Linked DNA regions of Homo sapiens: regions 1, 2, 3, 4, 5 and 6 are each linked to region 7. The links are contacts of gene promoters, found by promoter capture Hi-C in blood cells and fetal thymus (Javierre and others, 2016). All regions are on one chromosome and are shown on one strand. The core of a region is centred on a gene start or on the middle of the fragment in contact, and the rest is flanking DNA. Distances in the headings are between cores, read along the strand shown.

Region 1 (3,082 bases), core at 168-2,667, 420 kb after region 7:
CGGAATTATGAGGTCACAGGTGGGTGTTGTTTCAAGTCACTAAGAGTGTGGTGATCGGCTATGGTTGTGATAGAAACCAAATTCAGCCATCCAAACAACCACACCCCATCTGCTGTCAGCTCAACCCCGACTGTGGCCTTGTGCTCCCAGAGAGACTTGACTGGCCTGAGCCAATCATGAAGCCGCCTTCACGAAGCCTCAATCATGAAGCTTCCTTCAGATTGGTTTAGAAACAGGCATGTGATGCAATTCTGGCCAAAGAGAGGTGAGGGGAAGTCTGCCAGGAGGACCCGTGGATATGGCAGTGATGCCTGAGGCCATGGCAGCTCTCTTGCAACCATGAGGGGTCCTTGCTGACAGGCCAAAATGACAAGCTGAGGAAAACAGAGTGGAAGATGAATCAGGTCCTTGAAAACTTTACTGAACTGCCAAGGAACTGCTCTCCCCTGGACTTCTCACATGAGATAATAAATGTCCTTGTGGTTTAAGCCATTCTGAGTTGGGTTTTATGTTCTTGCAGCATAAAGCATCATCACTGATAAACCACTCACAGCACTGCTTGGGAGTGCAATAAGGTTGTACAGATAAAGTCCTTAGTGCAGTGCCTAACACCCAGTGAGTGCTCAAAAATGTTAGCTTTTGTTCCTTAATCAGTTCCGCCCCCTCCTGCCTCAGGCCCTGTACGAGTCAGGGTTTGACCAGAGAAGTGGGGCCAGTGTGTGGAATCCATCTACAGCCATGCCTGCAGCTGTAGCTCTGTCTCCAGGGCTTTATGACAAGCAGGTGGCCTGTGTGATCACGGGGGCTGGCTAAATGAGTCTGGAATCCACAGAAGGGAAGCTGGCAGGCAGGTGGAGCTCACGGGCACGGCTTATGGGCTTCCCCAGAGGCTCTAGACACGGGCGTGCCCATGAGCTCCACCTGCCTGCCAGCTTCCCTTTTGTGGACTTCAGGCTTGCTTAGCCAGCCCCCACAATCACACAGCCCACTTCCTTGTCATAAAGTCCTTCAGAAAGAGCTACAGCTTGTAGGCCTGGCTGTAGATGGATTCCACACCCTTCTGTCCACAGGTGGAACTTCTCTTTCACACAGAAGCCTGTTTGGCTCTTGAAGCCCACCCAGACCAGCCAGGATAATGTCCCTTACCTAAAGTCAACTGATGACAGACTTTAATCCATATGCAGAATACCTGTACAGCAACTGTAGCTTAGTGTTTGACCGGTTAACTTGCTGTAACCAAGGGAGCGGTCAAGGCATCACATCAAAGCCAGGGGGACGCATCAAAAGCCCATTACACCGCCTGGGCTCAGTTTATTCTGGAATAGATGAAAAATGTCACTGCTGTCTTTTTCTCTCTGCTTCCTATGCTCTGAGCCGCTCAGTGACTCAGCAAGTCTCAGGAAGCTGCAGAGCTGACAGGTCCCTCAGAACCCAGCCAGGCTACTTTGGGCCATCAGGCCACGGCCACGCTGCAGCACCTACTCTGGGAGGTCCTGGAGGTTCGCACACAGCGGCTTCCTTTGCTGCATGGCGTTTCCTGAGTGAAGCAGCCTTACAGGAAACAGAGAGCAACATGTGAAAACAAGAGAACAACAGCAGGAAGAACAGCTTGGGGTAGGGGGGCGGGATGCAGCAGAGGAAGGGCGGAAAATAAATCACAAGGGGTGGGGGGACAGTCCTCAGGGGTCCTCTGTGACTCCTCTCTGGTCCCTACCTGAATTCGGGAACCCCCCCAACTTTACTGAGCAGGGGATGGCGGTGGGAAGGGTGCAACAGGAGTGTGCGAGCAGACACGGACACTCAGCTCTCGGGGGCGCCGTGCAGGGTGTCAGCCTGGGCTGGGTGACTTCTAAGGCCCTGCCAGCCCAAGCTGCTGACTTGGTTCTTTAATTCACCGAAGGATGAAGTATTGAGCCAGCCACTGTCCTTAGCAATGGCATGGCCCCTGACCTCACAGAGCTTACCCCGCAACCTCCCCCCCCGAAGGAGCAGACCTCAATGAAGTCATCACAAAAATACATGAAGGACAGAAAAGTCCAGGGGCCGTGAAAGACGTTAGGAAGAGGCTGTAGATGGAGGTGGGGCCTCCCTAAAGAGTTGGGGTCTGGCAAGACCTGAAGGGTGAATGTGGATTGGTCAGGAGTAGGCTTGGGGATGGTGGAGGGAGCCGTATGCCCAAAGGGCCTGAGAAGGGGAGCCCTGGAGGGTCAGTGTGGCTGCAGGAGAGGATGGGAAAGGGCCTGGTCACTCACAGTCATGATGGTCACCAGAGGAGGTCACAGGAGAGTTGTGAGTGGGCGAGCCCGAGGTGGGATCTGGGTGTTGAAAAGATTAACCTGATGCTGTGTGGTCCGTGGTTCTGATGGAGCTGGGACACCAGTCAGGAGGCTAGGACAGCTGTCCAGGAGTGGTGCTGGGGCTGGGCTGGGTGGTGGGTGCGACTGGAGAGTAGCAGGTGGGTCTGAGCCACTTGGAGCTGAGACTTAGCAGGACTCCGTGTGTACAGGTGAGGAGGGCTCTTCACCTGCTCCTCCTCACTGGCCCCTCCTCACTGGCCCCTCGGCATCCAGGCTGGCTCCAACCTGCTCGTCCCCGTGCAGGCAGTGCAGACAAGCCAAGCTTGTGCCCAGCCCTGTGATTTTGCTATGGGAGTCACCTCCGCCCTGGATCACACAAGTCATGGCCCCACCTTGCCACTCAGGCCTCAATTCCAGGGTCACATCTCAGAGAAGTCTCCTGTGATGGGCTGGTTGTGTCTCCCCAATTCATATGTTGATGTCCAGACCCCCAGAGCTCCTCATAATGTGATCTTATTTGGCGATGGGACCTTTAATGAGGTAATCAAGTTAAAATGAGGTCTTTAGGGTGGGCCCTAATCCAGTCTGACTGGTGTCCTTCTAAGAAGAGGGGATTAGGACAGAAATACACACAGAAGGAAGACCACGCGAGGATACAGGGAGAAGGCGGCCCTGGCTGCCAGCCCAGGAGAGAGGCCGCAGGAGAAGCCAACGCTGCGACACCGCACTCTGGTCAGCCTCCACAGCTGTGGGAGACAAATGCCTGTTGTTGAAGCTCCTGGTCT
Region 2 (3,050 bases), core at 356-2,855, 430 kb before region 7:
CCTTGGCCTCCCAAAGTGCTGGGATTACGGGCGTGAGCCACGGCACCGGCCCTATTTTATTATTCTTTGGTAAAAGTATCCAGTCTATGTAGCATACTCAGCCAGATGAGCTTATGTAAATAACCAAAGTGGGTGGGTGTGGTTAGACATAACTTATTCTTGGCTTTTATGGAAGACCTCTTTTTCTTCATTTGTTTATTAAAAAAAATATGTATTGCTTACTTTCATATTTGTTGGCCCTGTTGTAGGTGTTGGAGATACAGTGGATAAAAGTTTCTACCCTAATGGAGTTTATGTTTTAGTGGAAATGAAATAACAGATTGGGGCCAAGACTTGTTAGTGGTCTCACACTGGTATGAGTAATCTTTTTTGGGTGTGTTTGTGTTGTTTTTTTTTTTTTTTTTTTTTTTTTTGAGATGGAGTCCTCCTCTGTCCCCTAGGCTGAAGTGCAGTGGTGCGATCTTGGCTGACTGCAACCTCTGCCTCCAGGGTTCAAGCGATTCTCCTGCCTCAGCTGCCAAGTAGCTGGGATTACAGGCGCCGGCTACCTCACCCAGCTAATTCTTTTTCGTATTTTTAGTAGAGACAGGGTTTCGCCATGTTGGCCAGGCTGGTTTCGAACTCCTGACCTTAGGTGATCACCTGCCTCAGCCTCCCACAGTGCTGGGATTACAGGTGTGAGCCACCGCACCTGGCCATTTTTTTTTTTTTTAAATAGCAATGGAATCTTGCTGTATTGCTCAGGCTAGATGAACTACTGGGCTCAAGTGATCCGCCTACCTTAGATCCTGAGTAGCTGCGACTACAGATGTGCCACCATGCCTGCTTCTGGTATTGGTCATCTTAATGCAGTGTGGGCATATGGAAAACCCAGAGAAGGTTGTTATGAGCTGATTTTCCTTTCCGACAACTTAAGACAGTACTCAAATATTGTGGAGAATAAGGAAAACAGAGTTAAGTAATTATCTGACAGACTTTGATTATGAAGAGAAAGGTTCAAATATATGAAGTTTATTTTCTACTTTTCATTTTATTTTATTTATTTTTTTAGAGATAGGGTCTTGCTCTTGCTCAGCTGGAGTGCAGTGGTGCAATCATAGCTCACTGCAACTTCAAACTGCTGGGCTCAAGCCATCCTCCCACCTCACCCTCCCAAGTAGCTAGGACTACAGGTGTGCGCCACCATACCCAGCTAATTTTTGTATTTTTTGTAGAGATGGGGTCTTGCTATGTTGCCCAGGCTGGTCTTGAACTCCTAGTCTCAAGCAGTCATTCCACCTCAGCCTTGCAAAGTGTTGGGATTATGGACATGAGCCACTGCACCTGCCCTGTATGTTTTATTTATTTAATTTGTTTTTTGCAGAGATAGGGTGTTGCTATGTTGACAACGCTGATCTTGAACTCCTGGGCTTAAGCAGTCCTCCCACCTCAGCCTCTCAAAGTGCTGGGATTACAGGTGTGAACCACTGCGCTCAGTTCTAGCCGCTATTTTTTAGATTCTTAGATGCCGTAAGTGGCAGCTTGTGGAATTGATTCCATAGTAAATTGAGTCAGAAGACATTTGAGAATCTATTATAGGCAAGGCATTATGCCAGGTGCTGGTAGGCAAACAATAATTTTTAGGTACTTTGTAGAAATAACAGCTTTGAGTCACTTTGAGAATTCTCTTATGTGTAATATGAGTCTAAAAGAAGTTTTTAACATTTTTATTTCAAACTCATTTTGAATAGGAATATGCAGATGTTGAAACCATAGAAATGAAAGTCTCACTTTAATCCCTGATTCCTGGTCCTTACTTCTCCTCCTTAGTAACAACCATTTTTACCTCTTTTTGTGTCTCCTTCCAGATATTTTATGTACATATTTGTGTATATATGTACATATATATTTATATTACCTTTAAAAAACTCAAATAGAGGTCTACTGTTCAAACAGTTCTATACCTTGCTTTTTTCCCTCATACAATATAGTTTGAGCATCCCAAATTTGAAAATCCAAAATCTGAAATCTTTTGGGTACCAACATAACACTCAAAGAAATGCTGCTTGGATTTGGGATGCTTGCCTGGTAGGTATAATGCAAATATTTCAAAATGTGAAAAAATCTGAAATCTAAAACACTTCTGGTTCCAAGCATTTTGGACCAGGGATTAACCGTATGCTACTTATAGCCCATGTCATTAAAAAACAGTATTTTTAAACTTATTATTTTTATTTTTTAGAGACATGGTGGCACTCTGTCACCTATGCTGGTGTGTAGTGGTGCGTGTGATCGTAGCTAACTGCAGCCTTGACCTCCTGGGCTCAAGGGATCCTCTTGCCTTATCCTCCCGACTAGCTGGGACTAGAGGCGTGCACCACCACGCCTGGGTAGTTTAAAAAATTTTTCGAGACAGGGTCTTGCTATGTTGCCCAGGTTGATCTCAGACTCCTGGCCTTAAGCAATCCTCCCATTTCCACCTCCCAAAGTGCTGGGATTATGAGTGTGAGTCACCACACCTGGCCAACTTGTGTCCGTTTTTTTTTTTTTTCAGCTGCATAGTGTTTCATGTTATGTATTTCCTGTGATTTTTTTTCTTTTGGGTTTTTCGTATGTCCACACTGCATTAAGACAACCAGTGTTAGTCTTGAGACCACTAACAAGTCTTATCCCCAATCTGTGTCATTTCCACTAGAATTAAAGCTCCATTAATTTCCAAGGATAGGCTGGGCGCGGTGGCTCATGCCTGTTATCCCAGCACTTTGGGAGACTGAGGTGGATGGATCACCTGAGATCAGGAGTTTGAGACCAGCCTGGCCAACATGGCAAAACCCCATCTCTACTAAAAATACAAAAACTAGCCAAGCGTGGTGGGGGGTGCCTGTAATCCCAGCTGCTCGGGAGGCTTGAACCCGGGAAGTGGAGGTTGCAGTGAGCCGAGATTGTGCCACTGCACTCCTGCCTGGGCAACAGAGCAAGACTCCGGATCTCAAAAAAAAAAAAAAAAATTCCATGCGTAGACAAAATATATATCATTAGGATACATTCAATTGTAAATAATGGAAGTAATA
Region 3 (3,117 bases), core at 533-3,032, 370 kb before region 7:
ATTGAGCATTTTTTCATATACTTGTTGGCCATTTGTGTGCCATCTTTTGAGAAATGACTATTCAGATCTTTTGCCCATTATAAAATTGAATTTGTTTTGCTATTGTTTTGAGTTCCTTATGTATTCTGGTTATTAATCCCTTGTCAGATGGATAGTTTGTAAATATTTTCTCCCATTCTGTGGATTGTCTTTTCACTTTGTTGATTGTTTCCTTTGCTGTGCAGAAGCTTTTTAGCATGATGTGATCCCATTTGTCTGTTTTTGCTTTGGTTGCCTGTGCTTTTGAGGTCTTACACTGAAAATCCTTGTCCAGACCAATGTCCTGTAGCATTTCCCCAATGATTTCTTCTAGTAGTTTCATAGTTTCCAGTCTTAGATTTAAGTTGTTAATCCCTTTTGATTTGATTTTTGTATATGTTCAGAGATAGGGGTGTAGTTCCATTCTGCAGGTGGTTGTCCATTTTCCCCAGCACCATTTATTAAAGAGACTGTTCTTACCCCATTGTATGTTCTTGGTGCCTTTGTTGAAAATGGGTTGGCTATAAATGTGTTGATTTATATCTGGGTTTTCCATTCTGTTCCATTGGTCTGTGTGTTTTTATGCCAGTACTGTGCTAATATGTTTACTATTGCTTTATAGTATGTTTTGAAGTCAGGTAGTGTGATACCTCCCATTTTGTTCTTTTTGCTCAGGATTGCTTTGGCTATTCAGTGTCTTCTGTGGTTCCATATAAATTTAAGAGTTTTTCCTGTTGCTGTGAATGTTACTTATTTCTAGCTTTATTCCATTGTGGTCAGAAAAGTTAATATGATTTATTTTTTTTTAATCGTTGAGATTTGTTTAAGATATGGTCTCTTCTGGAGAATGTTCCCTTGTGGTGATGAAAAGAATGAGTATTCTGCAGCAATTGGGTGAAGTGTTCTATAAATGTCAGGTCTATTAAGTATGGTGTCTACTTTAACTTTTGTGTCTCTGTTGATTTTCTGTCTGGATGATCTGTCCATTATTGAGAATGAGGTGCTGACTTTCTCTACTAGTATTGTATTACAGTCTATCAGTCTATCTCTCCCTTTAGATCTACTAATGTTTGCCTCATGTACTTGGGAGCTCTGATGTTGGGTACATAGATACTTATAATTGTTACATCGGCTTCCTGAATTAACCAGTTTATCTTTATATAGTGACCTACTTTGTCTCTTCCTATAGTCTTCGATTTGTAATCTATTTTATATGATGTAAGTATAGCTACTTCTACTCTTTTTTGTTTTCCAGTTGCATAGACTATATTTTCCCCACCCCTTCACTTTCAGTCTATGTGTATCTTTGTAGGAGAAGTGGGTTCCTTGTAGGCAGCATATAGTTGGGTCTTATTTCTTTGTCCATTCAGCCACTTTATGCCTTTTAATTGGAGAATTGAGTCCATTTACATTCAGTGTTATTTTTGATAAGTAAGGGCTTAATACTGCCATTTTATTGCATATTCTGGTTGTTTTGTAACTCCTCTTTTCATCCCTTTTTTACTATTGTCTTTGTGGTTAAGTGATTTTCTCTGGTAGTATGTTAATTCATTGCTTTTTATTTTTAGTGAATCTGTTATAGGTTTTTGTATTTTGGTTACCATGAGGCTTACAACAAACATAACAAGTTATTTTAAAGAGATGGCAACTTATGTTAGATCACAAAGAAAAGATTAGAAACAAAGATTCTGCCACTTTAAATAGGAATTCACAGGATGAATACTTAAAATTAAAACACTGCAGGAAAATTAGCCTGTGAGTGAAGATCTGGTTCAGGAGTACACTGGGAAATTGTCTGGCATCTTATCTAAACCTTACGCTCAGGTCTTCTCCTAATGTCTTTAGAAATTTCATGGTTTCTGATTGTCAAGCCATTTCCACATAGGAAATGCAAGCCTATAACTCAACTCTTTGGGAGAATAAATGTATAAATAGTTATTCCAACAGTGGACTTTTATCACTTACCCTGCTTTATTATACAAAAAAAAAAAATAAGGAAAAAGAACTTAAGGACAAGTTTAGAATGGATGAACAATTAAAGTGTTTATTATCACAGATGACTTAGTAAATACATTTTCAAATTGTTAAATTTCCTTTAACATATATAAGTACTATTTCCTTAAGAATAATCTCTTCTTCAGTAGAAATGGAATAGCTTCATCTTTTTTTTTTTTAACTTTTATTTTAGGTTCAGGAGTGCATGGGTAGGTTTGTTAAATAGGTAAACTGCATGTTGCGGGGGTTTGTTGTACAAATTATTTCATTACCCAGGTAATAAGCATAGTACCCAATAGGTAGTTTTTCGATCCTCACCCTCCTCCCACTCTCCACCCTCAAGTAGGCCCTGGTGTCTGTTGTTCCCTTCTTTGTGTCCATACTAAATGTTTAACTCCCTCTTGTTAAGTGAGAACATGAGGTATATGGTTTTCTGTTCCTGTGTTAGTTTGTGTAGGATAATGGCCTCCAGCTCCGTAAGGACATGATCTCATTATTTTTTTATTGCTGTGTAGTATTCTGTGGTGTACATGTACCACATTTTCTTTATCCAGTCTACCATTGATGGGCATTTAGGATGATTCCATGTCTTTGCTATTGTGAATAGTGCTGCAGTGAACATACATGTGCATGTGTCTTTGTGGAATAATTATTTATATTCCTTTGGGAAAATACATAATAGGATTGCTGGGTTAAATGGTAATTCTGTTTTAAGTTATTTGAGAAATCGCCAGACTGCTTTCCATAATGGCTGGACTAATTTACATTCCTACTGGCAGTGTGTAAGTGTTCTCTTTTCTCCACAACCTCACCAGCATCTGTTATTTTTTGACTTTTTAATAATAGACATTCTGACTGGTGTGAGATGGTATCTTATTGTGGTTTAGATTTGCATTTCTCTAATGATTAGTGATGTTGAGTATTTTTTCATAAGCCTGTTGCTGCATGCATGTTATCTTTTGAAAAGTGTTCGTTCATGTCGTTTGCCCACTTTTTAATGAGGGTTGTCTGATTTAAGTTCCTTATAGATTCTGAATATTAGACCTTTATCTGATGTATAGTTTGCAAGTATTTTCAAGTATTTTCTCCCCTTCTGTAGGCTGT
Region 4 (3,136 bases), core at 422-2,921, 490 kb before region 7:
CCCCCATCCCACAGAAGGGATGAGATAGTGTGACTCAGCATCTGCTGCAGGGGAGGAGCTGGCCCCTGGTTGAATTTTAACAGGATTCGAGGGTAGGGAAATAGTTTGAAAGTGTCAGGCCATCTTTCACCATCTTCTATGCTGCACTCCCCTCCTTACTTCTGTTCTCCCTCCCCTACCATTGCCCTCCCAATTCTTTCTTCATTATGCAAAGCAGCCTGGGAGCTCGGGGGAGTGGGGAAAAGGAGGGCACCAAAAGAAGAGAGTCCAGAGCCCGCAGCTTCTACCCGCAAGCCACCTCTCCAGTCTGCTCCCTGTCCAGACACACACAGAGCCCCCCGCCAAATTCAGTGGCACAAACTGTTCCCCATTTTTTTGCACACGTAAATGTGTGTGTGTATGTGCTGGTGTTTATAACAGGGTGTTACACTGGAACTACTAAGTCACCAAGGTGAAATAGATAAGACACCCAGACCAAGATGCAAATGTTCAAAGGAAATAAACAACAGTCGTTTTATTTTTAGACGGACTCTCGCCCTGTCACCCAGGCTGGGGTGCAATGGCGCGATCTCGGCTTACTGCAACCTCTGCCTTCCAGGTTCAAGTGATTCTCCTGCCTCAGCCTCCTAAGTAGCTGAGATTACAGGCGCGTGCCACCACGTCTGGCTAATTTTTTTTCTTTTTTTTGTATTTTTAATAGAGATGGGGATTCACCATGTTGGTCTTAAACTCCTGACCTCGTGATCCGCCCGCCTTGGCTTCCCAAAGTGCTGGGATTACAGGTGTGAGCCACCGCACCTGGCCAACAAAAGCCATTTGTAAGACCCTAAAACATCTCACCTGCATTGAGGTTATATAATGATCTAGTTGTTGGAGATCAGAGGAATTAGTGAGGAGGACTTTGGAGAGCGGGTCTTTCAATCTCCCCACCCCAGCCCTACCCCACCGAGGGGCAGAGCTGAGGATGCCTCTACCTGAGCCAGTTGAGGGCACTGAAGCAGGACCATTGGAAAGCTGCATCTGGGCTCCTTGCAGGATGGAGGAGCTGGGCCTGTCTCTGACTCCCACCTCAGCAAACTGAAAGACAGGAGAAAAAGGAGCCTCGGAGAGGCGGTTGAGCAGGCAGCTTCAGTCCCCTAATGATCTCCAAGGTGATCAGAGCTAGAACATGTGAAGATTTTCTGTAGATCAGATGTGGGCCCCTGCAGGAGCTGGCCTGATCATGCCCCAGGGGACGATCTGGAGCAATGTTCATGCCAACTCGGTGGGAAGGGAAAAAATAGGAGCCGAGAAGAGAGCCACCAGCGGGAGGTGAGTGTGTCCCCCACAGCAAAAGGCAGGATGAGAGGCTCTCAGCTGGGAGTGGGGATGTCTCCAGAATCCATGAAAGCAGCCGGGGAGATTATAAGATGGATCACCTTGACACATAGGTCAGCACAAAACCACCCTGGACCCATATCACTCAAGTAAAAAATCTCCAGCTCGCTGAGAGCTCCTCCCTCCCTTGCCCCCTCCCCGCCCCATGCCAGGGGTTAGAAACTACCTTAGAAAGATTGAGGGCAGGGGAGACTTTATGATGGAGACAGAGAAAAAGAGATCCACCCGTACTCTAGTAAACTTTAAGTTGGAAATTTGGCTGTTCCCAGACTGGACATTCTAAGACTATATTTAAAAACCTAAAATGAATATAAAACTTAAAAAAAAAACCTAGTGAATTAGGGTTCTCTAGAGAAGCAGAATCAATAGGATATGAATATTTAGAGGAAGAGGTTTATTGTGAGAAACTTGTTCATGCAATTATGGTGGCTGGAGACCTAGGAGAGCTGATGGTGTCCTTCCAGTCCAAAGGCCATCTTCTGTAGAACCAGAAGGAGCCAATGTTGCAGGTGAAGTCTGAAGGCCACCTGCTGGAGAATTCTCTCTTGTTAGAGAAGGGGTTGCATAGGCTGGTCTTTTAAGGCCACTCAAGCCTTCAACTGATTTGGTGAGGCTCACTCACATCGTGGTGGGCAATGTGCTTCACTCAAAGTCTGCTGATTTAAATGTTAATCCCATTCAAAAAACACCCACACTGTCCAGGCGTGGTGGCTCATGCCTGTAATCGCAGCACTTTGGGAGGCCAAGGCCGGCAGATCATTTGAGGTCAGAGGTTTGAGACCAGCCTGGCCAACATGGTGAAACCCCATCTCTACTAAAGATACAAAAATTATCTGGGCGTGGTGGTGGACGCCTGTAGTCCCAGCTACTTGGGAAGCTGAGGCAGGAGAATCACTTGAACCCAAGAAGTGGAGGTTGCAGTGAGCCAAGATCGTGCCACTGTGCTCCAGTGTGGGCGACAGAGTGAGACTCTGTCTCAAAAAATAATAATAATAAAAAAGGAGATAGACATGGAAGTCAGGTGTGGCAAGCAAACATGTAGACCTGGGCTGTGGGACCCTCGGAAGGGATGTGGGGCCAAGCTCTTGGAGGGCCTGAGGAATCAGCCCAAGGAGCTCTGGCTTTCAGTAGCTACTCTTGTGTGTAGCAGAGCAGGCTGGAGTAGAGTGAAGGGAGCCTGGGGTAAGGAAATAAATCAGGAGTCAAGAAGTAATGATGCTAATGCTGCTGGCTGGGTGCGGTGGCTCACACATTTAATCCTGGCACTTTGGGAGACTGAGCAGGCGGACCCCTTTGAGTTCAGGAGTTCAAGACCACCCCAGGCAGCATGGTGAAACCTCGTCTCTATAAAAAATTAGCTGGGTGTGGTGGTTCACACCTGTAGTCCTAGCTACTTGGGAGGCTGAGGTGGGAGGATGGTTGGAACCTGGGAAGTGGAGGTTGCAGTGAGCCAAGATTACACCACTGCACTCCAGCCTGGGTGACAGAGCAAGACTCTGTCTTTAAAAAAAAAAAAAAAAAAGCATTTTTCTAAACTCAAATATCTAATAAATCATAATGAAAATTAGATAATACTAATAAATGATTAAAAGTATGCAAATTAAAAATTGTGAGATGCCACACAAAGCATCGAGAGCAATCTGTAGCTTTATTTACATTAGAAAAGCAGAAAAGATGAAAATGAAGCTAATACCCAGCATATGTTAGAAAATATAATGAGAATAAACTCAAATAACATAAATGGAAGGATAAACAGGTA
Region 5 (3,159 bases), core at 298-2,797, 400 kb before region 7:
AGTCTACTATAATTGTAATTTGTCTTTATTTTCTGTCATACCTATCAGTTTTGCCTCATGTATTTTGAAGCTTTGTTTTAAGGTACATACACATTTAGAATTGTTATGTCTTCTTAGGAACTGACCCTATTATAATACCCCTTGTATTAGTTTGTTTTCACAATGCTATAAAGAACTACCTGAGACTGGGTAATCTATAAAGAAAAGAGGTTTAATTGACTCACAGTGCCGCATGGCTGGGGAGGCCTCAGGAAACTTATAATCATGGCAGAAGGGAAAGTAAGTCACGTCTTACATGGTGGCAGGAGTGGGGGCAGAACTGCCACACACTGTAAAACCATCAGATCTTGTGAGAACTCACTATCACAAGAACAGCAGCTTGAATTTCTCCCCCAGAAAATGGGTTTTTCTTTTCTACTACATGGTAAGGCTGCAAATTTTCCAAACTTTTATGCTCTGCTTCCCTTTTAAACATAAGTTCCAATTTCAGACTATCTCTTTGTGAACACATATGACATACAATGAACATTTTCATTATTATTATTATTATTTTGAGAGGGAGTCTCACTCTGTTGCCCAGGCTGGAGTGCAATGACACGATCTTGGCTCACTGCAACCTCTGCCTCCCAGTTCAAGTGATTCTCCTGCCTCAGCCTCCCAAGCTGGGACTACAGGTGTATGCCACCATGCCCAGCTAATTTTTGTATTTTTAGTGGAAACGGAGTTTCACCATATTGGCCAGATTGGTCTCGAACTTCTGACGTCAGGTGATCCACCTGCCTTGGCCTCCCAAAGTGCCGGGATTACAGGCATGAGCCACTGTCCCCGGCTGACAGTACGCTTTCAGAAAAAGCCAGGTCACATCTTGAATGCTTTGCTGCTTAGAAATTTCTCCTGCCAGATACTCTAAATCATGTCTTTCAAGTTCAAAGTTCCGCAGATCTCTAGGGCAGGGACAAAATGCCACCAGTCTGTTTGCTAAGGCATAGCAAGAGTGACCTTTGCTCCAGTTCACAATAAGTTTCTCATCTCCATCTTGGGCCACTTCAGCCTGGATTCATTGTCCATATCACAATCAGCACTTTGGTAAAAATCTTCTAACAAGTCTCTAGGAAGTTCCAAACTTTCCCACATCTTCCTGCCTTCTTCTGAGCCCTCCAAACTTTTCCAGCCTCTGTCTGTTACCCAGTTCCAAAGTCACTCCACATTTTCTGGTATCTATAGTAGTACCCCATTCCTGGTACCAATTTTCTGGGTTAGTCCATTTTCACACTGCTATAAAAAACTACCTGAGACTGGGTAGTTTATAAAGAAAAGAGGTTTAATTTGACTCTCAGCCCCACATGGCTGGGAAGGCCTCAGGAAACTTAAAATCATCGCAGAAGGTGAAGGGGAAGAAAGGCATGTCTTACATGGCAGCAGGAGTGGGGTGGGGAACTGTCACATACTTTTAAACAATCAGATTTCATGAGAACTCATTATCACAAGAACAGGGGGAAACCACCCCCGTGATCCAGTCGCCTCCCACCAAGTCCCTCCCTTGACATGTGTGGATTACAATTCAAGATGAGATTTGGGTAGGGACACAGAGCCAAACCAGATCACTCCTCTTTATCCTTGACAATCTTTCTTGTTCTGAAATCTACTTTGTCTGCAATTCATTTGGCTACAGTAGCTTTCTTTTGATTAATTAGTGTTTGTATGGTATATTTTTCTCCATTGTTTTATTTTTTTCCTCTTTAAATCTTTGCTTAGCAGGCTTCTTGTGGACCGAATATAGCTTGATCTTGCTTTTTTTTTTTTTTTTTTGAGACAGGTTCTCACTCTGTCACCCTGGTTGGAGTACAGTAGCATGATCATGGCTCATTGCAGCCTTGACCTCCTGGGTTCAATCAATCCTCCCACCTCAATGTCCTAAGTAGCTGGACTTACAGGCATATGCCACCATGCCCAGCTATATTTTGTATTTTTGTAGAGAAAGGGTTTCACCATGTTGCCCAGGGTAGTCTTGGGCTCCTGGGCTCAAGCGATCCTTCTGCCTCAGCCTCCCAAAGTGCTGGGATTACAGGTGTGAGCCATTACACCCGGCCTGGTCTTGCTTTTTTTTTTCTCCCCCAGTCTGACAATCTGTTTTTTAACTGGTAAGACTATTTACATTTAAAGTGATTATTAGTATAATTAGATGAAAACCTACCATCTTGCTAGCTCTTCTCTATTTGTTGCATTTGTTGTTTGTTTCTTTTTTTATTTTTTGAGACAAGGTCTCTCTCTCACCCAGGCTGGAGTACAGTGGCATAATTATGGTTCACTGTAGCCTGGACCTCCTGGGCTCAAGTGATTCTCTCACCTCGGTCTCCCCAGTAGCTGGTACTACAGGTGCACACCACCATGCCTGGTGAATTTTTAAATTTTTCGTAGATATGGGGTCTCACTATGTTGCCCAGGCTGGTCTCAAACTCTTGGGCTCAAGCGATCCTCCTACCTCTTGAGTAGCTGGGACTATAGGTGTGTGCCACCATGCCTAGCTAATTTTTCTATTTTTTTGTAGAGAAGAGGTCTTGCCGTGTTGCCTAGGCTGGTCTTAAACTTCTGAACTGAAATAATTCTGCTGCCTCAGCCTCCTGAGTAGCTGGGACTATAGGCATGCGCCTGTGTGGTTTTTTTCCTACTGCCTTCTTTGGTGTGATTTTTTTTTTAATTCCATTTTACTTTATTGACTTATCACTTAGATTTCTTTAAAAAGGTTTTTAGTGGTTGCTTTTTTGTTTACATTATACATTTTAAAATAACCTGAGTTTTTCAGGTGTTTTGCCACTTCGCATTTAGTTAAAGTATGGTTATAGTGTGTTCCCAGTTCTTCCCTCTTTTCCCTTTTGCCATTGTTGTTAAGCGTTTTACTTTTACCTGTGGGGTACTTATCCAATACATTGTTACTGCTTTAAGCAATTATCTTTTAGAGCAATGAAAAATAAAAAAATTATACTTTACCTTCATTTATTCTTCATTTTGTAGATTCAAGCTTCTCACTTTTATATATTTTTCTACCTGAAGGACTTCTGTTAATATTTCTTATAGGATGGGTCTCCTGGCAGTGAATTCTCTATTTTTGCTTGTCTGGAGGAAAGCCTTTATTTTGTACGTATGAAGGATATTTTCACT
Region 6 (3,015 bases), core at 139-2,638, 450 kb after region 7:
AAGAATGGGAGGTGGGAGCTGATGGAGGGGGAGGAAGGAGCCATCAACCCCTACCTCCCATCGTACGGGCAAGGACCAGGCTTATAGTAGGTGCTGACGTTCCGAGTAGAAACTCCTTAATGAGTGAATGCATGAGTGAAGGAATGAAGGCAGCTGGTTTCTGAACCTGGATGTAGCCATTTGACAAACTGCGCGCAGTGGCTGAGGGGGAAAGCCCCGCCCCGCGGAGCCCCGCCCCCAGGCCGCACGCCCTCGCGTCTCCTAGCAACCGCCAAACGTAGCTGAGTGGCTGGGCCTGCGGCCCTCCCTGCACCGGCGGACGCTCCTCTCAGTCTTGGAGTCTCTTCGCCCAGGTGGCTGTGGATCCGGTACGGGAGTTGCCGCCGCGGTCCAACTCCCCGCTGCCGCCCAGCGCATCCGCTCGCAGGTACCGCCAGCACCTGGAGGGGAACCCCGACCCCTGCCCCCACCTCGGCCGCCGCAGCCCGGGACTCTTCCCGCCTCGCCTCGATGCGTGTTCCCTCTTCGGCGTTTGCCCGGCGTTCCGCCTCCATGGGCCTGAGCTGATGCCCCGAGCCCAGCACCCAGTGCACATTCATGTTCTGTCTTGGGGACAGGGCTTGCCCTCCCCGACCTCGCCAGGCTCCTGCACGTGCTGCCCCCGGCCTGGTTTGCCTCTCCCCAAATAGCAAACGCATCTTGTGCTTAGGCGCAGCAGGCCTGCCTGAGCAGACGTCCCCTCTCCCGCCTGGTGGCTCCCGGGAGCTGCTCACCTGGGGCAGGCATTCCAGAAGCCCGGCGACTGACTCCTGGTTAGGCGAAGGAAACGGGGTTGCTCGTCGTCGTGCTTACTGCCAGCCACCCTTATCTGTTGTTCCTTCATCCATTCATTCTCTAAGTCGATTGAGTACCGACTGTGTGGCAGGCAGTGAAGGAGCCCCGGCGTTCATCTAGGAGCAGGCGGGGGAAGCAGGGAAGAGAAGGGTGGGTGCTTCTGCAGGAGGCCGGGCTTACCTCCTGGAGCAGCCCTGGAATACAGGCGGGGACAGCCTTCACTTTCTCCCTGCCAGGAGCGCCGGCGGCCAGCAGTGCGCTCTGCAGCATGTCGCTACATGCCTGGGAGTGGGAAGAGGACCCCGCAAGCATAGAGCCCATCTCCTCCATCACTAGCTTTTACCAGTCCACGAGCGAGTGTGACGTGGAGGAACACCTGAAGGCCAAGGCCAGGGCCCAGGAGTCTGACTCTGACCGCCCGTGCAGCAGCATCGAGTCCTCATCTGAGCCTGCCAGCACTTTCAGCTCCGACGTGCCCCACGTGGTCCCCTGCAAATTCACCATCTCACTGGCCTTCCCTGTGAATATGGGTAGGTGCTAGAGCAGAAGTTTAACACCCTCTGAAAAAAGGAGGTGCATGACTTTCTGCAGGAGTTTAGGGCGCATACACCCCACATCCTCTCTCCACCTGCCCCACCCCAAAGCGGGCTGGCCAGTGCCAGCCAGGAGCAGAGGTTGAAAAGAAACAGCAATTTTAGGAGAGGCCCAACTGTGGCTGCATCAGCTTCACATACTTAATCCTCTCAACAACCCTAAAGCAGGTGATGTTCTGTCTGCTTTTTACAGAAGAAAAAAAAACCATGGAGAGGTTAAGGCATTGATTCTCATAAGCGCTTGTGCATCACCTAATACCTTGTTTAAAATACATTTTCCGGGAGTCTGAGGCAGGAGAGTCTCTTGAACCCCGGAGGTGGAGGTTGTGGTGAGCAGAGATCACGCCATTGCACTCCAGCCTGGGCAACAAGAGCAAAACTCTGTCAAAAAAAAAAAAAATAATAATTCTTTTTTTATTGAGATGGAGTCTTGCTCTGTCACCAGGCTGGAGTGCAGTGGTGCGATCTCAGCTCACTGCAACCTCAGCCTTCCGGGTTCAAGCAATTCTCGTGCCTCAGCCTCCCAAGTAGCTGGGATTACAGGTGCACGCCACCACACCCATCTAATTTTTGTATTTTTAGTAGAGACTGGGTTTCACCATGTTGGCCAGAATGGTCTCGAACCCCTGACCTCAGGTCATCCTCCTGCCTCAGCCTCCCAAAGTGCTGGGATTACAGGCATGAGCCACCGCACCCGGCCAAAAAATACATTTTCTCTGATCTGTTGAATCAATCTCTGAATGTAAAGGTGTATCAATTAGCTATTGCCACAAAAATGCGGTGCAACAAACCCAAACAAGCCCCCAAGCTCATGGCTGCACACAGGAACCTGAGGTTCTCCTGGAGGTGCTGGGCGCTGGTCTAGGCTGGGTTCTGCAACAGCTCAGCTCTGCTTCATGCTGCTCCTTTTCCTCCTGGACCAGTGGGCTATCCTAGACCCCTTCTTGTTCTAGAAACACGGACACACAGGAGGGCAAGCCTAGCCCCACAAACACTCCTCAAGTCTTTGAGTGTCTCCCACCTGCTAGCATTTTATTGGCCAAACCAAGTCACATGGTTCCAGCCCAATATGAGGGGAGGAGACAAGTAGTACTTCACATCTTGATAGACCTTGCTTTGTTTTGTTTTCATCTGCTTACTTGAACTAGCCCACCATTATGATTTCAACTTCTCCTGGTATTCTGTCGATGGTGTAAGTTTCTTGTATGGGTTGGAACCCCGAGAGCGCACCAACAGACAACACGAGGCGGTGTGGAGCAACATGCTGTTTCAATGAACGCCTTGGTGCAGGCCGGCTGAGGCCTAAAATGGCGTCAGCCCCAAGTGAGGACGGGGCAAAGGTTTTATAGTCTCCTGTAAACAGGAAGTGTCCTAGTCTGGCGTAACTGCTACGCTGTACCCGGATGGCCTCTTTCTCATCTTCATGTCTTCCGGCCAGGGTAGGTGTATTCCAGCCGGCTCTCCTCCTGCTTCTGCTATTTTGCTGGTGCACGCTGCTGACGTAAGTGACCTTACGCCTTGGGACTAGGCTTGAGAAGGGAGGAGTTATTCATCTCCTTAAGCTTTCAGGCCCTGGGGAGAGTCTTAC
Region 7 (2,842 bases), core at 188-2,687:
GCTACCACTAGTGCCGAACACAAAAGAGAGGACCCGTCTCCAACGTGAGCCTTGAAGGATGTTCAGGATTTCCGTGTGAGATGAGGAGAGACGGCATGCTTTACACAGAGAAAGATCTCAGAAGGGACAGAACCAAAGACAAGTAACCTGCTCCAGTGGCCAGAACAGAGGCTTCACAACAATGCTGAATGATTTTCAAAGTCAGGCCAAGACCTATCCCATAAGTAAGAATATGACAAAACAGACTGCTATGTTATAGATTTAGGCGATAACAATGGAATAGGACATTAAATAACTGAATCAAAAGGTGACAAAGTCATTCCCCTTCAGTTCTTTTTCAGACTTCCCAATTAGGAGAGCTTGTGTTTGGTGCTCATTTTGAGCACCTTTCTGATCATACCTGCCCATCTCCAGTTTTAGAGAAACGAGATCTCAGGTTTAAAGGCTCCCTAGCAACAATAGCTAGCTACAGCTTGTTCAGTTTTGTTTCTCCCTACTTTAAGTTTTACTTTTACACTTAGAGCAAGCGACGCTGATTTTATCTTAACATTTAGAGCAAGTGACACTGGTTTTCATAAATGGAGTAATAAAGTTTCCTTGTAAAATGTGAAATCATAATTAAAATAAATGAGACAATTTAGAGAAAAACGTCAAGAAAACAAGAGTATGGGTACTATGTGGATGTGGCAAGAACTGTGAAGCTTGAGCAGCTTCGTGCTGTCTCGTGGGTGTGAGATGAATCCAAGGCAGCGACAGGGCCAGACCGTGAGGGAAGAGCCGCCTCCACCCGCCACCACCTCAGGCGCGGCACCTCCCTTTGCCGCTCTCCAACCCTCGGGAGTTTCTCCAACCGCCAAGGGGCGGGAGGGCGACCCTGCAGTCTCCCAGGCCGGGGTTCAGTGCCCTCGGCCCAGGCAGCAAGCCCGCTGCCCCCCTCAAACACGCTGCAGCGGCTCGCGCACTCCCCGCGAGGACTCGACCTCCTGCTCTTCGCGAACCGCCCCGCTCCTCACCAGTGCTCGGCTTTATCTCTCCACGTCAACACGGCCCTCATCACGGCTTCCCTTACGGCTCGGGCTCCTCCTACCCGCCTCAGCGTCTGTCTCAGCAACCGCCTCACTAACGGTCGCCACTCCACAAGCCACTTTGGCTACCTGCGTTACCCCTGGCAACGTACATGCGCGGTAAGCTGAGTGCGAGGGCGCCTTGCTCCGAGCGCGCATGTCCGAAAGGGAAAGCCAGAAAAGCAGCAAAAGCAATGGTGGCACTGGAGCCCCTAAGGCGCCAGCGCAACCAGAGCGCGAGCGATTGGTCGGGGCGTGTGGGGGCGGTGCGTCTTCCTCGAGAATGGATTTGATTGGTGGAGCGTGGAAATGGCGGCTGTAGCCGAGGGGGCGGCCGGAAAGCAGCGGCGGCGTCTGGGGCGCTTTCGCAACATTCAGACCTCGGTTGCAGCCCGGTGCCGTGAGCTGAAGAGGTTTCACATCTTACTCCGCCCCACACCCTGGGCGTTGCGGCGCTGGGCTCGTTGCTGCAGCCGGACCCTGCTCGATGGGCACGACTGGGCTGGAGAGTCTGAGTCTGGGGGACCGCGGAGCTGCCCCCACCGTCACCTCTAGTGAGCGCCTAGTCCCAGACCCGCCGAATGACCTCCGGTAAGTTACTGTCCCCTTTTGGGCCTCAGTTTCACCACCTGTAAAATGGTATCGGGAGAGTGGACAGTGTGTGGGCCTTTCTAACCTTTGACAGAGGGTCGGCAGAAACCTCGAAGCCCACGGGTTTAGTTACTAGGGTCTGGAGCCCAGGTGCTCTTCCTGTGCGATCAGCCCTGGGGTGCGCTCGACTTCCTCATCTAAGATGACTAGGGAGACTGGGGGGGAGCCGGGAGGTTTTGTGAAAGAGGTCCCCTTGGGGTTGGAGGATCCTAGGAAGTCATTAGACTACGTGTGTGATAGGAGGTTAAGATTTACCTACTTTTTTCAAAATTTAATACTAAGAACTACTTTGAAAGAGGCATCACCTTCTTTTTACAGAGTCTTTTACCGAGACTTTGAGATGTTAAGTAACTTGCTGCTAAACTTACAGCTGGTAGAGCTGGAATTTGAGCCCCAGTCTCTTAAGAGTTTGTGCTGATTCCACCAGGCTTCAGTATTTTTATCTCTAAAATTGTAAACAATATCATTTCATAAGATCCATCCAGCTCCTCAAAATTATTTTACCCCAAATTACATCAGAAAACCTTGATTCTAATTCTAGTTCTTGCAGTTTCCCTATTTGTAGAAAAGAACTTGGGTTAAATGATCTCTCTAGACCCATCCACCTTTTACAATCTGTGGTTTAGTGATTAGGATACACTTTACTGAAATTTTTTTTTTAATTTTAAAAGTATGTTTTCATCATAGAAGACACATTGGAACTTTAATGAAGTTTTAGTTTAGTGGGTTTTTTTTTGAGATGAGGTCTCGCTCTGTCACCCAGGCTGGAGTGCAGTGGCACAATCATAGCTCCCTGAAGCCTTGACCTGCCGGACTTAAGCAGTCCTCCTACCCCGGCCTCCTTAGTAGCTGGGACCACAGGTATGCTCCACCACGCCCGGTTGCTTGTTTTTTTTTGTTTTTTTGGGTTTTTTTTTTCATTTTTTGCAAAGACGAGGATCTCACTGTGCTCTCCAGGCTGGTCTCAAACTCTTGGGATCAGGTGATCTTCCCACTTCCTCCTCCCAAAGTGCTAGCATTACAGGAATGAGCCACCTTGCCTTGCCAGCTTTTTTCAATAACAGTATGGGGGAGAAGTATTAGACCAAGATTTGGTAGACTTGGGTTCTCGTGTCTGTTCTGCAAGT

What was found. Contacts are between HindIII fragments. The CHiCAGO score rates a contact against its expected background, and 5 or more counts as called.
Region 1: a fragment that was not itself captured here is called in contact with the fragment with the promoter of MBD4 in region 7 in 1 of 17 cell types (total B cells); the score reaches 5.3 in total B cells.
Region 2: a contact is called between a fragment that was not itself captured here and the fragment with the promoter of MBD4 in region 7, in 2 of 17 cell types (M2 macrophages and M0 macrophages). The highest score is 7.4, in M2 macrophages.
Region 3: a contact is called between a fragment that was not itself captured here and the fragment with the promoter of MBD4 in region 7, in 1 of 17 cell types (M0 macrophages). The highest score is 6.6, in M0 macrophages.
Region 4: a fragment that was not itself captured here is called in contact with the fragment with the promoter of MBD4 in region 7 in 4 of 17 cell types (M2 macrophages, neutrophils, M0 macrophages and 1 more); the score reaches 9.6 in M2 macrophages.
Region 5: a contact is called between a fragment that was not itself captured here and the fragment with the promoter of MBD4 in region 7, in 5 of 17 cell types (M2 macrophages, M0 macrophages, M1 macrophages and 2 more). The highest score is 15.3, in M2 macrophages.
Region 6: a contact is called between a fragment that was not itself captured here and the fragment with the promoter of MBD4 in region 7, in 1 of 17 cell types (neutrophils). The highest score is 5.4, in neutrophils.

The regions. Positions count from the first base shown.
Region 1 is chr3:129,014,320-129,017,401 of GRCh38, reverse strand. The region is part of intron 2 of EFCC1 (EF-hand and coiled-coil domain containing 1); the gene reads right to left. It also overlaps a transcript of CFAP92 not described here. Among named protein-coding and RNA genes, the nearest start is that of EFCC1, 15 kb to the right of the region's middle. RefSeq lists a silencer at 136-295 and enhancers at 1-398, 1,076-1,125, 1,146-1,255, 969-1,476. The HindIII fragment of the contact is 2,409 bases long and covers 213-2,621 here.
Region 2 is chr3:129,872,854-129,875,903 of GRCh38, reverse strand. All of the region lies in intron 2 of TMCC1 (transmembrane and coiled-coil domain family 1), which reads left to right. Among named protein-coding and RNA genes, the nearest start is that of TMCC1, 19 kb to the left of the region's middle. The HindIII fragment of the contact is 9,223 bases long and covers 1-3,050 here.
Region 3 is chr3:129,812,879-129,815,995 of GRCh38, reverse strand. All of the region lies in intron 4 of TMCC1 (transmembrane and coiled-coil domain family 1), which reads left to right. Among named protein-coding and RNA genes, the nearest start is that of TMCC1, 79 kb to the left of the region's middle. The HindIII fragment of the contact is 3,105 bases long and covers 230-3,117 here.
Region 4 is chr3:129,924,128-129,927,263 of GRCh38, reverse strand. No RefSeq gene overlaps it. Among named protein-coding and RNA genes, the nearest start is that of TMCC1-DT, 32 kb to the right of the region's middle. The HindIII fragment of the contact is 4,695 bases long and covers 1-3,136 here.
Region 5 is chr3:129,838,977-129,842,135 of GRCh38, reverse strand. All of the region lies in intron 2 of TMCC1 (transmembrane and coiled-coil domain family 1), which reads left to right. Among named protein-coding and RNA genes, the nearest start is that of TMCC1, 53 kb to the left of the region's middle. The HindIII fragment of the contact is 2,949 bases long and covers 73-3,021 here.
Region 6 is chr3:128,991,392-128,994,406 of GRCh38, reverse strand. CFAP92 (cilia and flagella associated protein 92 (putative)) reads left to right here and starts at 331. Exons shown (of 16, transcript NM_001394090.1): 1 at 331-427; 2 at 1,071-1,364. The coding sequence starts at 1,103. RefSeq lists a silencer at 116-325 and an enhancer at 902-1,663. The HindIII fragment of the contact is 3,206 bases long and covers 1-2,991 here.
Region 7 is chr3:129,438,543-129,441,384 of GRCh38, reverse strand. MBD4 (methyl-CpG binding domain 4, DNA glycosylase) reads left to right here and starts at 1,437. Exons shown (of 8, transcript NM_001276270.2): 1 at 1,437-1,655. The coding sequence starts at 1,552. It overlaps IFT122 (intraflagellar transport 122), which reads right to left and starts at 1,161. Exons shown (of 30, transcript NM_052989.3): 1 at 1,014-1,161. The coding sequence starts at 1,054. RefSeq lists enhancers at 158-207, 608-657, 688-737, 888-1,097, 1,298-1,437 and 1 more. The HindIII fragment of the contact is 2,558 bases long and covers 704-2,842 here.